Regions from separate parts of the Homo sapiens genome. Here region 2 is linked to region 1. The links are contacts of gene promoters, found by promoter capture Hi-C in human tissues and cell types (Jung and others, 2019). All regions are on one chromosome and are shown on one strand. Each heading gives the region's core, a stretch centred on a gene start or on the middle of the fragment in contact. The rest is flanking DNA. Distances are from core to core; before and after follow the strand shown.

Region 1 (6,177 bases), core at 1,529-4,028:
GCCTATAATCCCAGCTACTCAGGAGGCTGAGGCAGGAGAATCGCCTGAACACAGGAGGCAGAGGTTGCAGTATGCTGAGATCACGCCATTGCACTCCTGCCTGGGCGACAAGAGTCAAACTTTGTCTCAAATGAATAAATAAATAAACAAACAAACAAACCCAGGCTATATTATCCAGCACATCAGTTCTCAAAAGGAAGTAATTCTAGGTCTAAAGCTTCTCTGTAGATAACATCAGGTTCACGGACCTGATGGAAAAAAATGGCTACAAAAGTAGGACAGGACTATTTCTCTAATTTTTTTGTCACATGCAAACATTAACATGGGCTTTACATACTCTCCTAAATATACATATGCACAGAACAGTCACCTGTGCCTTAGACTTTCTAAGAGTGTGCTACACTAAATTATGGATAAGAGACTACGTGCTGCTTCACCTTTCAAATAAAAGGCTTTTCAGTAAAAGGAAGACAATGACGCAGTGATTCTGCATTTGGATTCGGTGTGATAAACATTAACCGTATCGCATCACATGCCGACCTTCTCCAACCTTTTAAGTTCTTTCCTAACGCAGTTTAAATTATTTTTTCTACACTTTAGGGCGACACAGAACTTCAAGATTTAGCGGAAATGGAGCGCTCTATTTTTTAAGTTGGAAAAACTAAAAGGTCTAGCTTGGGTAACTTCTTCACAGCATAAGGGATAGTATTTTATACTAATAAAAATATCCTTTATGTCAATAACTATAATTTATTGAACACTTTATACGTGTGTTCTACACACTCGTTTCTCTTCACCTCAACCCTGAAGAGACAACGGAAATTATCATCACTTCAGCATGGACAGGTTCAGAAGTTAAATACTCTCTCAAGGTCAGAAGCAGCAGAGGCAGGATTCAAACCTTAGCCTTTCCCACTCCAAAGCCAAGACTCTTAATTGCCTTTGAGGGCACTAAGCTTTGCAAAAGAAATCTTTAGAATCCAAGTGGAAAAAAGATGTGTTGGTAAACGCAGTGCTGAGATATGCTATAGAGAAGTGACCAGTAGAGCAATCAAAAAGGTTAGTAATATCGAAGAAGTCCTGCCACAGAATTCCTGGGCAGCACATATGCTTGGTTCTGTAAACCTGAAAGAACTTGCAGTATAAAGTTATTAGAAGCCTTCCAAACTACATCAACAAACAAATCACTTACTTTCATAAACATGTCTGGCAGAGAGGTCACAGATAACTCCAATTATAATAGAAAAGCAAAAATAATTACATTAAGAAACATTTTTACAGAAATAGTCTTACTTTTCTTGATTTCCTAAGTTGACAGGTATAATTGATTCTATAAAGGCAAGAATGTGTGATGAAGATGATGCAGATGCGTGCAAACACACACACGACGGGAATTACATGCTGCATCTGTCACCCTAAGTTAACCAAGGTTCTGTAAAACACAACCCTCACCTTTTCTGGATGTGGTTCATAACAAGGCTGCCACTGTGGTAGCCTAGGAAAAACCTCACTACTTCCGAGAAATTATGAGAAAGCTCGTTAATTAAGGCTAACCTATGAAAAACTATTTAACACCAAATCATGAAAAACATTTCGCGGTAAGTCATCAAAATCCTTAAAGATCCCATAAATTTGAACCTATTTCAGAAGGATAAAAAAGTAGTAATCACACACATTATGTAAGAAATAGGTCACAGCGTAAGTATTCGCTTACTTGCCCCTATGTAAAATTCTTTGAGTCCAATGATTTTAATTATTAGAATCTAAATTAATCAGTTTTATTACAGTCACAGCTTATTAACCCCATAAAGAAAAATGGGCACATCCAAGATGCCAAAGATTTATTAAAAACAATTTAAAATACATGATGATTTTAAGTCTTCAACAATTTGGTTGTTTTAGGGAAATATTTAAGACCCGCAGACTGTTTGTCATGCCCTGGCCTCAAAGGAGTTTCACGACCGAGTTCTCCAGGTAAAAGTTAATGTATGCGGGTCCCTAAAGGAAGACCCCAGCCTTCCATTCCCCTGGAGCCTGCGGGCGGCGGGGAAGGAGGGTTCTGACAACAGGGTAAGGGAGAGGAGCGCAAACCGCCGGCCTCCGCCCCGCCACCCCCAGTGCGGCCACCGCTCATGCCAACACATCCCGGGAAAGCCGGGTGCACCGACTCCGCAAGGTCACCCGTGAAGAGGCGACTTTACATAATCTCCCACCGCGCCGCCAAGGCACCTGCGCGCCGCGGCAGCAGTGCAGCCGCGGTCCCCTTCCTGCAGCACGGGCGCGAGATGATGCGGGGGCGGCGAGCAGCGCTACCAGGCAGGACGCCGGGGACCCGCGGGAAGGCAGCGCGCACCAAGCCGGGGGCGGGGGACCGAGGGTGGACGCCCAGACCGGGGATGCCCCGAGCCGCCGCCTTGGCTTGCGAGGCGGGGCGCGGCCGGCGCGGGCGAGGCTCGGTGCCGAACTCCCCAAGCTGCCGCCGGACGGCCAGCGCCGAGCGCGCCCCTCGCAGCTTCGCCCCGGACTGCCCCGGGACGCACCTGCCGCGCGCCTTACCTGAGTGGCTTTATGGAACTGCTTCTTGAGGCCGGCCACCGACATGGTGCAGGAGGCCGCGCTGGCGGCTGCTGTGCGGGAGGGAGGAGGCGGAGGGGGACTGGAGGGCCGAGCGGGGCGGCGCGCTCCCCTGGCCGCCTCTGGTCGTGCCGCCGCCGGGGCTATGGGCGCGAGGGCGCGGAGCCTAGCGGGACACGGGCTCTTGCGGAGAAACACTCTGACGTCAAGGGCGGGTGATGCGGCCTCTTAAAGGGGACGCGGGAAGCCCCGCCCCAAGCGCGGGAACGCCCAGGCAGGTGCTGTGGCGCGCGGTACCTGGATGCTGGCGCCAACTGCGGGGATGTGGCTCAGCGGCACCCGCTGGCGGATCCCTAGTCAGCGGGCCGAGGACGTCCTCCTGTCCCGGGGTTGGTGTTCCTGCCCCCGGGGGCTGCGGACGGGTCGCTGCAGATTGGCAGCCCAGGCACCCGCAGGACTCAGGTGACTTGCTGGGCTTCCAGGTAGCCGCGGCGGCGCTGCCTGCAGACGGCCCTCCTGCCCTTTGAGCCTGGCGTCTCTGCGCCGCAGCCTGAAAAAGACTGGCCTTCTATCTGGGCTAATGAATAAGTCATTGCTCCTTCTATGCCTTGCCCTGACTGGTGGGTCACAGAAAACATTTCTCTGCCCTGGTTTCAATATCCCTTAAGCCCATCTTACCTTAGGGAAAGTCACACACGCGTTTTCCCCCTTGTCTGATACAATTTAATGACTTAAAAAGAAGAACAGGAACCCTTAAGCCTGGACGGATAAATAGAATTGAAGTCTTACTACAAAACTAGCGTTCAATCCTCTGGTTACAGAAATGAAAAAGCCCAAATGTGATCTTGTTGTTATGCTTGTGGATTTAGGGTTTCCGGTCCGATAAAAATCAAAATATAATGTGAAAAAGCATGATACTAAGTTATATACAGATGCTTCATATGTAACCAAGGAGGTATGGCTGGCTAAAGTGAAACTAATAGATGACTTGGGAGCAGAGCAGCACTAAATGCCTTCTGTGCTCTGGTACTTAACCAAGTCTGGTTTTTCTAGGACTGAGGAGGTGGTCAGAAAGAACTTAGACGCTGTCCCCGTATGTGGACCAAAGTGATAAGAAGGAGAAGCCAAGATGGGAGAAATTGCCAAGGATGTGTAGAGACTGCAAGGCCAAATGGGAGTCCTAGAAATACTTTTTCTGTCTCCGCAACTCCTGCAGCCTGATAGGAGCCACAGACCCATCCCCACTCTTCTAGGCACTGCGGCTTGGGCACAGGGTGAACACCTGCTACAAAAGGGTCCTCCATCCGTAGAGCTACCAGTCATGGTCCTTCTTGATAATGTGAACTGACACACACAAAGGCAGAGTCAAGCAGTGGTGGGCACTGGAGCAGTAGAGCGCATGGACTAGGGACGCAGGCTGCAAAGGGAGGCAGATGAAAGGAGCTATTCTCCAGTGTGGTAGCCCTTACCACTGTTCATATACCTTTCCCTACATGGCAGAATTGCACTTTCCAAACCTCTTGTTAAGTGGAGGCATGGTTACAAGTTTTGACTAGAGGTTTAAGAGGAAAAGTGACTGTCACTTCTGCAGCAGCAATATGAGATGTATGAGATGCCGCAAAGCTTTCTTTTCCTCGGCCGCAATATTCTAGAAAGCTGTGGTCTGTCAGCCAGTATCCAGAGTGAGACTAAAGCAGTGCAGAGTCCCCACCTGACGTTCAATGGGCATGTAGCATCAGTGAGAAACCTGAGTAATTTTAATCCACTGAGGCTCCGGTTGTTAGGAATAAACTTTTTTCTCTATGTTTCCAATTTTTAAAAAGGCTACCCATTACTTGCATAATAGAAAAAAAAGTATTTTATAGTTAATTTTTACTACCAGGTCCCTGATCTGAACAATAAAGCATTTTCATAAGACAGGGCTTTGTTGAAGCTGCCAAAAGATAGAGCAATTGATCTACAAAGTGGAAGGGCCTGGGATGGATAGGAGCTCTGCTCTCTAACAGTGAAAGGTGTGAAATGGGGGCCTGAATTGCCTCCTTGGAACTTTGAATACTTAACTGAGCCCTACATTATAAAAAAGGCAGTTTCTATCTTTCCCTGGTTCTTCATCCACCAACCTGGAAGTCTCATGCTGCTTAACTTCAAAGAAACTACCTTGGGAGAAAAAAACTACTTAAGGGCATTACATTAAATCCTTTGGAAACCATTGATTTAGTCGCCCAGGCATCCTCTGCACCTCATCTTATATGGTTTGGCTGTGTCCCCACCCAAATCTCATCTTGAATTGTAACTCTCACAATTCCCACGTGTCGTGGGAGGAACCCAGTGGGAGTGATTGAATTATGGGGGTGGGTCTTTCCTACACTGTTCTCGTGGTAGTGAATGAGTCTTACAAGATCTGATGGTTTTAAAAACAGGAGTGTCTAGTTCAACCATTGTGGAAGTCAGTGTGGCGATTCCTCAGGGATCTAGAACTAGAAATACCATTTGACCCAGCCATCCCATTACTGGGTATATACCCAAAGGACTATAAATCATGCTGCTATAAAGACACATGCACACGTATGTTTATTGCGGCATTATTCACAATAGCAAAGACTTGGAACCAACCCAAATGTCCAACAATGATAGACTGGATTAAGAAAATGTGGCACATATACACCATGGAATACTATGCAGCCATAAAAAATGATGAGTTCATGTCCTTTGTAGGGACATGGATGAAATTGGAAATCATCATTCTCAGTAAACTATCGCAAGAACAAAAAACCAAACACCGCATATTCTCACTCATAGGTGGGAATTGAACAATGAGATCACATGGACACAGGAAGGGGAACATCACACTCTGGGGACTGTTGTGGGGTGGGGGGAGGGGGGAGGGATAGCACTGGGAGATAAACCTAATGCTAGATGACGAGTTAATGGGTGCAGCACACCAGCATGGCACATGTATACATATGTAACTAACCTGCACAATGTGCACATGTACCCTAAAACTTAAAATATAATAATAAAAGAAAAAAAAAACAAACAGGAGTTTCCCTGCACAAGCTCTCTTCTCTTGTCTGCTGCCATGTGAGAGGTGCCTTTCACCTTCTGCCATGATTGTCAGGCCTCCCCAGCCAGGTGGAACTGTGAATCCAATTAAACTTCTTTCTTTTGTAAATTGCCCAGTCTCAGGTATGTCTTTATCAGCAGCGTAAAAACAGACTGATACATCATCTAAACCCAGCATTTGTATTGAAGCCACAATTTATGCCTGTAAAGACCTTTGAGATGTCACCTTTGAAGAAATTTGTTAAGCTCCTCCTACTAGCAAGCATCATGGTAGGAGATGCTGGGATTGAGAAGGGGAAGTATCGAGGCATGTATGGGCTGGACCTTGAATCCCAAGGGGTTTCCAGACGAGTAATTTGAAAAAAAAATCTTCCTAGGGACATTTATTGTTACTTGAATACAGAGGAACAAATACCCCAGACACTGAACAATTCTAAGCATGGATGCCATCTTTGGTTGCAAAGAATCTTCAACAGAGGCTTTGGAGAGAAATGCAGAAGCACAATGCAGGGAAAGGGGAATCAAAAGTCAACGAGGAAG
Region 2 (5,949 bases), core at 3,162-5,661, 260 kb before region 1:
TTAACCTGAAAGGAAGTGGGGGTATGGGTCAGGGACAGGACACAGCGTTGAGAAGGTCCAGCAGAGGCAGCAGGGCACAGCGGTTAAGAAGATAGGCTTTAGAGATGAAGACCTAAGCGTCTATAGGCCACTTTGACACTTTGAAGGCTCCCCACTCACAGGCTGTGCAGCCTTGGGGCAGGTCCTCATCCTCTCTGAACTTCATTTTCCCATCTCCAAAAGGGGGCTAATAATGCCTACTTTGCAGGGTACTTGCGAATCCTGAATAAGGTAATAAAGTGCAATATTTTGTGTTTAGATGGTGCTTGTCAATTGTTCAATGTTGTAAGGAGGCAGCATTTTAGGGGTTGAGCCTAGATCCAGCCCAAGAAATAAGAAATCCCAGTGCTAAGGAACTCAGTTGGTTCTAGGATCTCTGGTGATAGCTAGAATCAGACATTCCCTGTACTATTTTTAAGCCAAGACAGAAAAATGTACTTTTGATGAGTAAACTTGCTTTTGAATACTTTTTTCTACCTGCATCAATGTCCTTTTAGGGTGCCACTCCCCAAAAAACTCTGGTATGGCTTATTCTGGTGCCTTTTAAATGGTAGGGTTTTGTTGTTGTCATTGTTTGTTTGTTTTCTTTTTTTATTACTGTGGTTGAATTTTCGCTTCATTCTGTGTGTTTGGCTCTGGAGAAAAAAGAAGCTCAGATCACATCATGCTGTAAGTGGGTGTGGTCTGGGAATGCCCACTGCTGGTCCTTTGTACATAGTACCTCTCCCAGAAACTGTCAGCTCTCTTGGTGACAGCTAAATACATGCTTTAGACATGTGTTAAAAATCAAGCCTGCCAGGAGGGCTCAGATTTCATCCTACTCAACCACCTTCTGCGTCGTCGGTCCTTAGGAAGAGGGCAACAACCTCAAACGTGGATTAAGTTGCTTCCAGGTAGAATTACAGGACAAAGGCCTGGTTGGGGAAATGTTCTTATGATTTAAGGGTATCAGAGAGGACCTACCGCTTGAGTGCTTTAAGAAATAAAGAAATTGGCAAGTGTTTTGTTTTTCACCTTTAAAAAATATTTGTGAGGCCGTAAGAACTGGTTAAAAACTAGAAAGGCAGCAATAGTTTATATCTATGTCAATATTAATGCTGGAGACAAGCCCTCCGCCCAAGTGACAGGAAAGCATCCAGAACTAATTTGCGTCCCCAGGCAGATTTGGAAAATGATTATGCCTCAACATGGGGTAGAGCTGAATCTATCTGCCTTTGGCCCACTTTGGAAGATGATCTCTTCCCACGGCAAATAAACAAATGATGGAAAATGCAGGCCAGAGTTAGAGAGAACCTGACTAGGTAATTTTAGCCATTGACACAGAGAATTTTTCTACTCACCAAGATCAAGGCTAAACTTGGAGTGGGCAGAGTTCCTCAGCATCTTCTGTGGTCAAATATGCAGCTTGGCAATTAATCAGGAGAGGAATGAGCACAGGATACAACCCCTTCCGCTAGGACATGGCTCGGCCATGCTTGTCACAACAAGGGTCTGTTTATTTTTCCTCTATGGAAAGGGCATTTAAAAAAGAGGACCAGCAAACATCCTTGGCCAAATTTGGATTATGAGGTCAAGGAGTAAAATCATCAGCAAGCTTACATGGAAATAGACATAGAGGCAATCAATTTTGAAATAAGATACAGTGGATATAAAAGAGCATTTAACAAATGTTTCTTCAAGTTCTATGTATTCAACTGTTATTTCTAAATCTATTTTATTTAACCATATAGAGATTAAAATGCACTTCCCAAGTAATTAACCGAATAATGTGAAAACTAAACAAAATTTAGGCAGCATTAGAAGTACAGAAACTAGAAAGAGGAAGGTAATGCCATCGCTCCACCTGTGCTGTGTGTTCCAAACTCCACTTTTTAAGAGGGAGTAGGGATGACCTGGGGCCTGGTCAAAGGAGAGAAACCAGAGTGGTAGAAAGACACAAAACCTTGTCATTTAGAGACTGTTCAAGAACTAGGATTGCCTTGTAAGAGTGGTGAGGGCTCAAGGGGCAAAGGGGCATGATACCCTTTTTTAAAAAATGTAAAGCCAATTATGTGATTTTAAATGTGTTGGTATAACAGTTCCAGAACAAGTGCTGGGCACTGGCTGCAGAAAGTTACTATGGAATGTAATGCCTCAGTGGTAGTAAGTTCCCTTTCACGGGAAGGGTGGATGGTCCATCAACAGTGGTGTGGTAGACATATTTGAGCATTGGTTGAAATTGGATTGGGATGAGAGGGATTGAGGAGAGTGGTGCAATGGTCACACCAAGAGAGCAGCCCTAGAAGTAGACACATTTGAGGGCCTTGCCCACTCATTTTCCTTAACTCTAAACCCTCTACTTAACTCATCTGAGCTTCAGTTGCTTCACCAGGAAATGGAGATAACAGTGCCTGTCTCATAAGGTTATTTTGAGAAACAGATGCATTAATGCATACAGAGAGCTTCGCATTCTGCTTAGCTTGTAGTCCTTAATACATGACATCTGTTCTTACCATTAATTACGAGCTTTATGGTTTTTATTACCCTGATAGTCAAATGTAAACTTTCCAAATTCTCTAGATCCAAGGAACTTAACCGACAACACTTAGGTTCCTAACCACAAGGTGGCAGACAGATTGTCACCCTAACTATTATACTCTGGGATGGAGCTTGGAGATAAGAAGCAATGAGAAAGCAGTAATAGGATGAAAGGGGAAAGAGAAATGAACCGGACCTGGTGGGACCCTGGTGGGTCCCTGCTGAGAGCTGTGAAATCAGGCCATGGATTTATAGGGATTTTACTGTGCTTTGACTTTTACATAATTATTTTTTTTTGGTTTGGCTTTTATGAGAATAAAATATCTTTTGAATAAATAGGAGTTTTCCTGAAAGCTGATGTTTATGGTGACTTTACTTCACGATAGGGAGACAAGTGCAAAAAGATGGCTAGAAAACGAGTGTGTGTTTACCGTCATGCAAGGAAGATACCAGACATAAATATGGCAACACCCTTCCCACTCGTCCACAGCTGCCACAGACTCAGGCTCATAGCTACAAGCATGAAAATCAAACCCGCTCATATAGGCACCCGAGAGTTCTTTCTTGCCTACTTTTTTCCCAAGCTTACCCTCTCCAGACTCCCAGTAAAAGAAATATAAAAGCACAACTTTCCCCTGGGGAAGGATGGACATGGGACCAGATGAGTGGATTCTAGTCCCACCTTGGCTATTTAAGGAGATGTTCTGGTTTGGACAAGTTAATCAATCAGTGTTCTCACCCCCACGGTGAAGGGCATAACCTAACCCTGATCCATCTCTAAAAGGTTCTTTCATCCTAATGGTCTCTTAACTCTCTAAGGCAGAGAGGAAGACCTTTCTCTGAAGCCTAGCATGTAATCTTAGCTACCTGAATCATGAGCCACAATTCACACAAAAGCACCCTGATACATACAATGTTAGAAGAACTGGAAGAAATTTTGGAAAGTAAGTAGTTCTGCCCTTTTGCTTTATAGATGAAAAAATTGATAAGGTAATTTTACCAAGGACAGACAGCGAATTCAAGATTAGGCCAGGACTAGGCTCAAGCCCTTGGAAATTCTAAGAATCATTCCCAAACATGTACTTACACACACCCCACACCCCACACATAATAACGTTTTTAGAGTATTGTTAAACATTATTTAGATTCCATAAAATTCATCCATTTTAATTTTACAATTTAATGATTCTTAGTGAATTGACAGAGTTGTGAAACTATCTCCAAAATCCAATTTTAGCATATTTTTATTCCCCCATAAAGATTGCTAGTGCCCATTTGCTGTCACTCCATTCCCATCACAGGCAAACACCAATCTGCTACATGCCTTTATAGATTTATTTATCTCAAGATATATATAAATAGAATCATATAATATGTAGTCTTTCCCCCAATTTTAGAGGAAAAAGCAGTCAGTCTTTAACCAATAAGTATTATATAATGCTACTTACAGATTTTTCATAGAATTCCTCTATCAGGTTGAGAAAAGTATTTTCCATTTACAGTTTACTAAAAAATTTTATCATGAATGAGGATTAGATTTTTGTCAAATGTTTTGTGCATGTATTGAGATGACCATGTGATTTTTGTCTTTATTCATAGTATTATATTAATGTGACATTACATTGATTGATTTTTAGATAGTAAACCAACCTTCTATTACTAGGGGAAATCCTACTTTGGCACGGTGTATAATCATATTATATGTTGCTGGATTCATTTTGCTAATATCTCGCTGAAGATTTTTGCATCTACAACCATGAGGAATATTGGTCTGTAGTTTTATTTTCTTGAGATGTCTTTGTCCAGCTTTGTATAAGGGTATACTGGTCTCATGGAATTTGTTCAGAAATGTTCTCTCTTACAATTTGTGGAAATGTTTTTTTAAAAAATTGGTGTTTTATAGAATTCACCAGTGAAGATATCTGGACCTATGCTTTTCTCTGAGGGAAGATTTTTTCCATTACTATTAAAATTCTTTACTAGTCTATGCATGTTTTCTATTTCTTCTTTAGTCAGTTTCATTAATTTGTATCATGCTATGAACTATTTCATCTACATTGTCTAATTTGTTAGCTTAAAATTGTTCATCATGTGCTCTTATAATCCTCTTAATTTCTGTGAGATTAGTAGTGATGTCTCCTTTTTCATTTTTTTTTTTTTTTGTCAGTTTAAATCAGGTATCTCAACCTTAGTACTATTGATATTTGGGCACAATAATTTTAGCATGGAGGGGCTGTCGTGCATTGTAGAATATTTAGGAGCATCTCTGATCTCTACCCACGAGTTGTCACACACACACACACACACACACACACACACACACACACACACAAAGCATTACAATTAAATTTTTCTCCAGACATTGACAAAATATCCCTTGGGGTACAAAATCACCCTTGGTTGAGAACCACTGGTCTAGATGAGATTTTAATTTTGTTGGTCTTTTCAAATAACCAACTTTTGTTTTCCCTGATTTTACCTAATTTTCTGCTTTCCATTTCATTAGTGTCTGCTCTAATCTTTATTATATCCTACATTCCACTTGCTTTGGGGTGAATTTACTTTTTTTTCAGTTTCTTAAGGTGGAAGCTTTGGTTATTAATGTGGGGTATGCAAGGTCATTTTAAGACAAATTATATTTTGGACAACTTGGATTTTAGAAAACCTAGTCTCTTAGCTAGAAGAAAGGTTTATATGTTAAAAACTAGAAAGTAGTAAAGAAAAGCTTTTCCCCAGCACTCATTCTTACCTTCTCTAAACAAAATACTACGTAAACGAAAGAGCCATGGTGTTCTTCTAGACTGCTCTTACCTATTAACCCAGGCTTCCTTAAATTACATGAATCTTCAGCCTCTTCTTGAAGCTTCTTTCCCACCTCCCATCTACATCCTGATTTATGGTTCCTCTTTTCATTCACTCACACTGATAAATTAGCTAATCTGATTGAGCAACTGTTACTGACAACATCAGAGAATATTTTGACTTTACCGCTATGCAATCTATCCATGTAACAAAATTTCTTTTAGGAAAACTAGACTTTAAAACAAAGACATTTTCAAATCATGGAAGGATAGAGAAAATATAGCTTAACACATCAGAAAGGAAAACTTAGTTTGGTCAGGCTGAGATCAACCTCCATTCCATGAGCAGGTGCTAAAGCCGGGATGAGGATACCACTGGGAGTTAAAGAGAGACATCCCATTAAGACTCTTTGGCTAGCATTAGAGCTGACCCATGGAAACCAAATTTAGTGCATGAGCACCAAGATCATCAGGAGCAGAGCTGACAACAGGAGACTGGACAAAAATGAGGAGCAGGGCAAAATATGAACAAGGCAAAAAGTAAAGAGGGTCTTGACATTTCCATTTAGTCTGCAGGTTACATTTCTGGGTT

What was found. The method cuts DNA at HindIII sites, captures the fragments that hold promoters and counts their contacts. A contact is called where the count stands out against the background at its distance.
Region 2: a contact is called between a fragment that was not itself captured here and the fragment with the promoter of SH3GL2 in region 1, in 2 of the 25 tissues and cell types used here (neural progenitor cells and thymus).

The regions. Positions count from the first base shown.
Region 1 is chr9:17,575,667-17,581,843 of GRCh38, reverse strand. It overlaps SH3GL2 (SH3 domain containing GRB2 like 2, endophilin A1), which reads right to left and starts at 2,778. Exons shown (of 9, transcript NM_003026.5): 1 at 2,557-2,778. The coding sequence starts at 2,601. RefSeq lists a silencer at 3,768-3,966. The HindIII fragment of the contact is 4,711 bases long and covers 588-5,298 here.
Region 2 is chr9:17,834,828-17,840,776 of GRCh38, reverse strand. No RefSeq gene overlaps it. Among named protein-coding and RNA genes, the nearest start is that of SH3GL2, 260 kb to the right of the region's middle. The HindIII fragment of the contact is 4,048 bases long and covers 2,388-5,949 here.